2 separate regions of the Homo sapiens genome follow, and region 1 is linked to region 2. Evidence: promoter capture Hi-C in 16 types of primary human blood cells and fetal thymus (Javierre and others, 2016). All regions are on one chromosome and are shown on one strand. The core of a region is centred on a gene start or on the middle of the fragment in contact, and the rest is flanking DNA. Distances in the headings are between cores, read along the strand shown.

Region 1 (3,799 bases), core at 876-3,375, 120 kb after region 2:
GAGACCCTGTGTCAAAACAAACTAACTAACTGCCCTTCCCATAAATCCCAGTTTCCCCAATCAGGTGGTCCCATTAGGCCCATCTTTTTTTTCTTTTTTTTTCTTTTTTTTGAGTCAAAGTTTCACTCTTGTTGCCCAGGCTGGAGTGCAATGGTACAATCTCAGCTCACTGCAACCTCCACCTCCCGGGTTCAAGTGATTCTCCTGCCTCAGCCTCCTGAGTAGCTGGGATTATAGGCAAGCACCACCACGCCTGGCTAATTTTTTTTGTATTTTTAGTAGAGACAGGGTTTTGCCATGTTGGTCAGGCTGTCTCAAACTCCTGACCTCAGGTGATCCACCCACCTCGGCCTCCCAAAGTGCTGGGATTACAGGCATGAGCCACCACGCCCAGCCTCATTAGGCCCCTCTTAACCAAGTTCTAGGGTGAGGGATAAGTTGCTTACAGGGTTGGCGTGGATACAGCACTACACCCTCCCCTTAAAAGTAGGGAGTAGACGCCAAGGGAAACTAGAGCTATATAATCCCATCATCAAGCCTTCAGCCCTCTTCCAGGACCTGCCCCAACCGGCCTATCCAGGACTGAAACAACAGCATGGGCCCCACCTCCACCCCACCATATGCCTGGGACCTAGGGTGTCAAATTCCCCAGGACCTCCAAACACTTCCTCCTCTGCCCCTCTGAGAACAGCAATCCTGGTGCACACCCACGAACCTGTGGGGGTACCCACACCTCCACCTGGCCTCCCAGACCCTTGACCGCAGGGGCTCTCCACCCAGCCTAGCCCCTGGCACCAGAGCCCTGGCCCAGCTCCAGGTTTTGCATTCTGCCCTTGTGACCTGGCCAGGAGGTGGGTAACTAGGGCCAGTTTCTTCTTCTTTTTTTTTTTTTTTTTTTTTTGAGACCGAGTCTCACCCTGTTGCCCAGGCTGGAGTGCAGTGGCATGTTCTTAGCTCACTGCAACCTCCACCTCCCGGGTTCAAGCGATTCTCCTGCCCCAGCCTCCCAAGTAGCTCAGACTACAGGCGTGAGCCACCATGCCTGGCTAATTTTTGTATTATTAGTAGAGACAGGGTTTCACCATGTTGGCCAGGCTGGTCTTGAACTCCTGACCTCAGGTGATCCACCCACCTCGGCCTCCCAAAGTGCTGGGATTACAGGCGTGAGCCACTGCGCCTGGCCTACTAGGGTGAGTTTCTAAGGCAGGAGCTGAGAGTAGACATGGCTAGTAGGGTGCTCAGGAGGGCAGGAGGAGGGCTGTTTATGAGCCAGTGGTGGGAGAGAGTGTCATTCTAGTCTGAGAGGCTTTTTCCCTGTGGCTTCCAGCTCTGCCCTTTTCTTAAACACTCCTTCAGCCTCAGCTTGGCTTCAGTCCCACCAAGTGCAGTCTGACTCGTGGAGACATGAGAGATAGAGAGAGTGAGAGACCAGAGAGATCAGGAGACAGTGACTGAGAGGGACTTACAGGGAGATCAGGGAGAGAAGCAGAGAGAAGGAGAAAGCCCAGAGAGCATAAGAAATGAAGACCCAGAGACACCAAAGGAGGGAGAGACAGAGACACAGAGAGACAAAAAGATTCAGAGGCAGAGACTGTAGAGGCAGAAGCAAAGCAAGACACAGAGCATTTCAGAGACCCACGGCAAGAGACAGGGAACAGCATGGAGAACTATGAAAAAATAGGCTTCCAGAGAAAGAGAAAACTCCAGCTCTGGAGGGAAAGGGACTTAGCCAGGGCCACTCGGCCCATCAGTGGCAGAAATGGACTTGAACCCAGAGAAAAAGAAACAAGTGCCCCAAATACCAAAGGAACCCAGCCCCCATCCCTGGCCCATCATTTTGCGACAGCCCCATGACTACCCCAAAACCAGGCCCAGGCTCCAACTGGCAAAGCAAAAAAAAAAAACAAAGAAAGAAAGAAAGCTTTGCCCCATCCCAGGAGGGCCCCCAGGCGCAGCCCCCTCCCACGGCACCTTTCCAGCTGGCTGTGAGCCCTAGGGCCGCAGGAAAGGTATGGCAAGATGATGGGAGGGATTTAAAGTTCACAGCGAGAACAAGAAAAGTGGGGTTAAGGAGGAGGGTGTGGGCAGAAACAACTTAAGAACAACCTCTGCCCCACCACCCCCCAAGCACACCCAGAGCTGCAGGCTCTAGCGCATCCCAGCCAGTGTCTCCTGCAGCTCAGCAGGTAAAGGGCCCCGGTGAGGGAGGCAGAGAAGGAGGGGGTGTCTCCCAAGAGAGGGTGGGTCGCCAGCTCCAATCTCTGTCTCTGAGACTGGCTAGGAATCTTTTTTGCTGTTTCCTCTGAGAGCTCTCATGTCCCTGTTCTGAGCACTGGGATTTCTTTACTGGTGCTTCACCAAGTAGGTGGCTTCTCTCTCTGCAATGCAACCCCATGGTTGGCAACACTTGATTTTTTCCTGTCACTGTTTCTGCCTGTGCCCTTCCTCTCTGTCTCCGTCTCTTTCTCTCTCTCTCTCTCTCTTTTTTTTTTTTTTTTTTTTTTTGAGGCTGGAGTGCAGTGGTTCAATCTCAGCTCACTGCAACCTCCACCTCCTGGGTTCAAGCGATTCTCCTGCCTCAGCCTCCTGAGTAGCTGGGATTACAGGTGCCTAACACCACGCCTGACTAATTTTTGTGTTTTTAGTAGAGACAGGGTTTCACCATGTTGGCCAGGCTGGTCTCAAACTCCTGACCTCAAGTGATCCGCCTGCCTCGGCCTCCCAGAGTGCTGGGATTACAGGCGTGAGCCACCGTGCCCGGCCTCAGTCTCTCTTGGTCTGCCCTTTGCAGCCTACCCGTCTCTTTGTGTGGCTCTAATATTCCCTGCCTCTCTTATTCTCTCTCTCTCTCTCTCCATCTCTGTCTATGTGACTCTGTCTTTGTGTATCTGTTTCTGTCTGTCATTCTCGTCTCCCTCAGTCTCTGTGTCTAGCTCTGTCTCTCCCTCTCTCTGTCCCTCTTACCCTTTTTCTCTCCATCCTTCCATGTCCCTCTCTGTCTCTCAGTCAGTGTCCATCTCACTGTCTCTCCACTCAATCTCCCTTGTCTTTCTCTAGCTCTGTGTCTGTCTAGTTCTGTCTCTTTCTTTCTCTAGTCTATGTCAGCCTCTCTCTTTCTGTGATGTGCTCTCTGGCTCTCCCTATCTCTGTGTTTGTCTGTCTCTGTCCCTGTGTGTCTTGATCTCTCTTTATCACTGTCTCTGTATGACAGTCTCTTGACAGACAGGTGATGATAGATAGATAATAGACAGATGATACACAGATGATAGATTATGAAGATAGTAGATAGATGATAGATATAGATAGATAATAGATGATAGATAATAGACAGATCAATGATAGATGATAGAAGAATAGATAGATGATGGATAGACAGATGATAGATGATAGATAGATAGATAGATGATAGATAGATGTTGATAGATGTTAGATAATAGATGAGAAACAAAGAAAGAAAGAAAAAGAAAAAAGAAAGAAAGAAAAAGAAAGGAAGGAAGGAAGGAAAGAAAGAGTGATAGATGATAGATGGCTGATAGGTAGACAGACATCTGTAGATATGTAGATCGCTCACTGTTTTTCTGTCTCTCTCATTATCTTTATGCATATCTCTTGGCCTCTCTTAGTCTCTGTTCCTCTATCACTTGCCTCTCTCCATTTATGTCTCTGTGTTTCTGTCTCCTTATCTGTCTATATGTTGACTATCTCTGCCTCTTTCCTCCTTTCTCCCTCCCTTCCCCATCCCCTGGCCTCTCCCTGTCTCCTTCTCTCCATCTGCCTTCATTTCCAGGGCCTAGGGAAG
Region 2 (3,668 bases), core at 732-3,231:
GACTATCACATTGGACAATGTAGCCCCAACCCACTGTATGACCTTGGGTAAGACTTGCAAACTGTCATTGCTTCAATATCTCCATCTATAAAATGGGGATGGCAACAATACCTCACTAAGAGTGTAAAGACTGAGTTACTGTGTGTAAAGCACTTCACGCCTCCCCATCGGTGCTTCACCCTGGGGCTGCAATGAGCACCCAATCTTAGTGTCAGATGACACAGCACAGCAAGACCGAGGCCCTTGGTTCAGGAAAGTCCATGCTGCCACCTCTTCAGGGTCAGGAAAGTACAGTTTCCACCTCTTACAAATAGGACTGTTTGTCTGCTCCTCCTGGGTCAAAGTAACTTCGGGTTCAGGTCCTGGATCCAGCAAAGGGTTTGCTTAACATTGCAAGAAAGATGTTGCCTCATGGTCAAAAGTCAGGCGTAGGATGAGACAGGCAGACACGCACACATTCACACCCACGTTTTGCAAAGATGGACTGACCCTGTCAGAGGATGTGTGGGTGAAGGTGCACAGTGAGGATAGAGACATATGGGAGTCCAGTAGACATCAATCAAACTGGACTCAGTTTGCACACACCTGGAGCTCAAGAGTCTCCAGGGGGAAAACAGAGACACAAAGTCAGACAGAGAGAGAGCCAGAGAAATTTCCTGCACCGTGAAGATAGTCAGAGGCAGGGAAGAAACTCCTTAGCACTAGTTAGAGTGATCAGAAACCAAGAGGACCTGATCGCTGTACCTGCCAGGTCTCAGTTTCTGTCTCCTTCCAACTGACCACCTCTTCCTCTGAGACTCACCAGTTCTGCATCTCTTGCTCCTCCTTCTGTTTCTCCGACCACTTCCACCTGTGGCTGTCACAGAAGGGCGGATGAAGGAGGGGACACTGGAGATAGACTCAGCATCTGCAGGCTTCCAAAGAGAGGGGCTAGGAGATCCACCAACACACCAGCACAAATACACCAGCACACACAGATACACACAATTGGTTCATGTATTGCTAGGTTACAGTTTGCTATGCTACAAAGGCAGTAGGCCAAATTTGATTGAATTGAATAATTCCTTATTTTCATCAGCTTCTCCTTTTTTTTTTTTTTTTTTTTTTTTTGAGATGGAGTATTGCTGTGTCACCCAGGCTGGAGTGCAGTGGTGTAATCTTGGCTCACTGCAGCCTCCACCTCCCAGGTTCAAGTGATTCTCTTGCCTCAGCCTCCCGAGTAGCTGGGATTAAAAGTACCCACCATCACGCCCGGTTAATTTTTGTGTTTTTAGTACAGATGGGGTTTTGCCATGTGGGCCAGGATGGTCTCGAACTCTTGACCTCAATTGATCTGCCCCCCTCAGCTTCCCAACGTGCTGGGATTACAGGTGTGAGCCACCGCACCCAGCCAGCCTCTCAGTTTTGAACATGCACTACCACCACCTCCACAACACACAAATGTAAATGCACTTTCGTATATAAAACTGTATAAATACAAGGAAGCTCATACACATGCAAGGATACACACATAAGCACCCCCAGATTCAACCACAGAAATATACGCCAGTACATTTGCATAAATTCAAACACCCCTTTACATGTAAAAATCATATAAGCACATACAGGGATGCAAGCAGGCATGGACAAATGCATGCAAGCACAGACAAACAGACAAAGCTAAGTAAAAAAGTGCAAGCTCACCTATGCTTACAAAAATAGACATACATATACCCACAAACCCACACACCCACACATTCACTTGCTCACCTGGACTTTGATATCTCTACCACTGTATCCCTGCCAATATCTACAGAGTGGGTAAAGGGATAGGCATCAGGTCACTGGGTTGCCCAAGCAGGAAGTCTGGGTTCCCTAACAACTTTTTCTAAGCTAATGCTCCTGGATGATGATGAAAAAGGAGGTGGGGAATGGATGAAATTTTATAACAGGGTGCAGAGGCAGGGTCAGGATAAAAGGCCCAGTTGGAGGCTGCAGCAGGGTGCAGGGCAGTCAGACCAGGACCATGGAACTCAGCGTCCTCCTCTTCCTTGCACTCCTCACAGGACTCTTGCTACTCCTGGTTCAGCGCCACCCTAACACCCATGACCGCCTCCCACCAGGGCCCCGCCCTCTGCCCCTTTTGGGAAACCTTCTGCAGATGGATAGAAGAGGCCTACTCAAATCCTTTCTGAGGGTAAGACACAGACGAATGGGGTCTGAGGGTGAGCTGCTTCTTGCCTTGGTACTTGGGGAAGCTTCACCAAACAGAATGAGGCAGACTTCCAGAGTCAGGGGTGGCACGGGCATGGTTGGTGAGTACGGAGCATGGTGAAGCATGATGGGTGGTATTATTAGGAGAAAAGCATCAAATTAAATTTAGCAGAGTTTATTTGAGCAAAGAAGTGACTCATGAGTTGGACAGCTCCCTAAACCAGGAAAGACACCACACGGCAGTATGGTCAAGTGGTATTTACAGGCAGAAAAAGGAGGTGACATACAGAAACAGCCTGATTGGCCACAGATCACAGCTTGCCTTACTTGGTCACAATCTGAGCAGTTTGCAGCCTGTGTGGACTGAAAGCCCAGCTGCTCTGATTAGCCAACACTTGGCTACTTGTCACAAGAATATATTCATTTGGGCCAGGTGCAGTGGCTCATGCCTGTAATCCCAGTGCTTTTGGAGGCCGAGGTGGTGGATCACCTGAGGTCAGGAGTTCGAGACCAGCCTGGCCAACATGGTGAAACCTTGTCTCTACTAAAAATACAAATATTAGCTGGGCATAGTGATGCGTGCCTGTAATCTCAGCTACCCAGGAGGCTGAGGAAGGAGAATCACTTGAATCCAGGAGGCAGAGGTTGCAGTGAGCCAAAATCTTACCACTGCACTCCATCCTGGGTGACAGAGTGAGACTCCTTCTCAAAAAAAAAAAAAAAAAAAAGAATATACTCCCAAGTTAGGTTGCAGTTCACTCTACAGAGAGAGCTTTAGGTCAAATTTAATTTAATTAAACAATTCTCCCCTTTTGGTCAGCCTCAAAATTTTGAGATTGACCAAAACCTTGGGCATCAACATTACTTCTGTCACCATCATAATGGACTTGTCTGCTCTCAGTATGGAATTCACAATGGACAATGTCAACGTAGTTGAGTGATTCTTTACCTTTTCTTCATGTTTTTGTTGTTCCCACTGTAATGAGCCCACTGGATGTACAAAGAATGGCTGCATATGAGCATTTAAGACTCTTTTTTTTTCTGAGACAGGGCCTCACTCTGTCAGCCAGGCTGAAGTGCTGTGGCATGATCACGTCTCACTGCAGCCTTGACCTCCCAAGGCTCAAGTGATCCTCCTGCCTCAGCCCCCCAAGTAGCTGGAACTACAGGTGCATGCCACCACGCCCAGCTAATTTTTGTATTTTTTGTAGAGACAGGGTTTTGCCATGTTGCCCAGACTGGTCTTAAACTCCTGGGCTCAAGCAATCCACCTGCCTCGGCCTCCCAAAGTGCTAGGATTACATGTGTGAGCCACCGCACCCGGCCAAGACTCTTGAGAAAATACAACACATCAGGGAGACTGTTATGATGGCTCTCAGGAGGGTAATACGAAGAAAATGAAGTCACTGGGCCTGTAATAAACTTTGAGGAATGTGGACTTGGGGGTATAGATAAGGTCCACTGTCCACAGAGAG

The links. Contacts are between HindIII fragments. The CHiCAGO score rates a contact against its expected background, and 5 or more counts as called.
Region 1: the fragment with the promoter of CYP2F1 here is called in contact with the fragment with the promoter of CYP2B6 in region 2 in 17 of 17 cell types (naive CD8 T cells, total CD4 T cells, naive CD4 T cells and 14 more); the score reaches 32.0 in naive CD8 T cells.

The regions. Positions count from the first base shown.
Region 1 is chr19:41,112,307-41,116,105 of GRCh38, forward strand. It overlaps CYP2F1 (cytochrome P450 family 2 subfamily F member 1), which reads left to right and starts at 2,126. Exons shown (of 10, transcript NM_000774.5): 1 at 2,126-2,186. The HindIII fragment of the contact is 5,953 bases long and covers 1,920-3,799 here.
Region 2 is chr19:40,989,301-40,992,968 of GRCh38, forward strand. CYP2B6 (cytochrome P450 family 2 subfamily B member 6) reads left to right here and starts at 1,982. Exons shown (of 9, transcript NM_000767.5): 1 at 1,982-2,176. The coding sequence starts at 2,006. RefSeq lists promoters at 1-2,021, 322-1,987, enhancers at 246-293, 276-295 and cis regulatory regions at 337-349, 1,724-1,747. The HindIII fragment of the contact is 6,148 bases long and covers 1-2,235 here.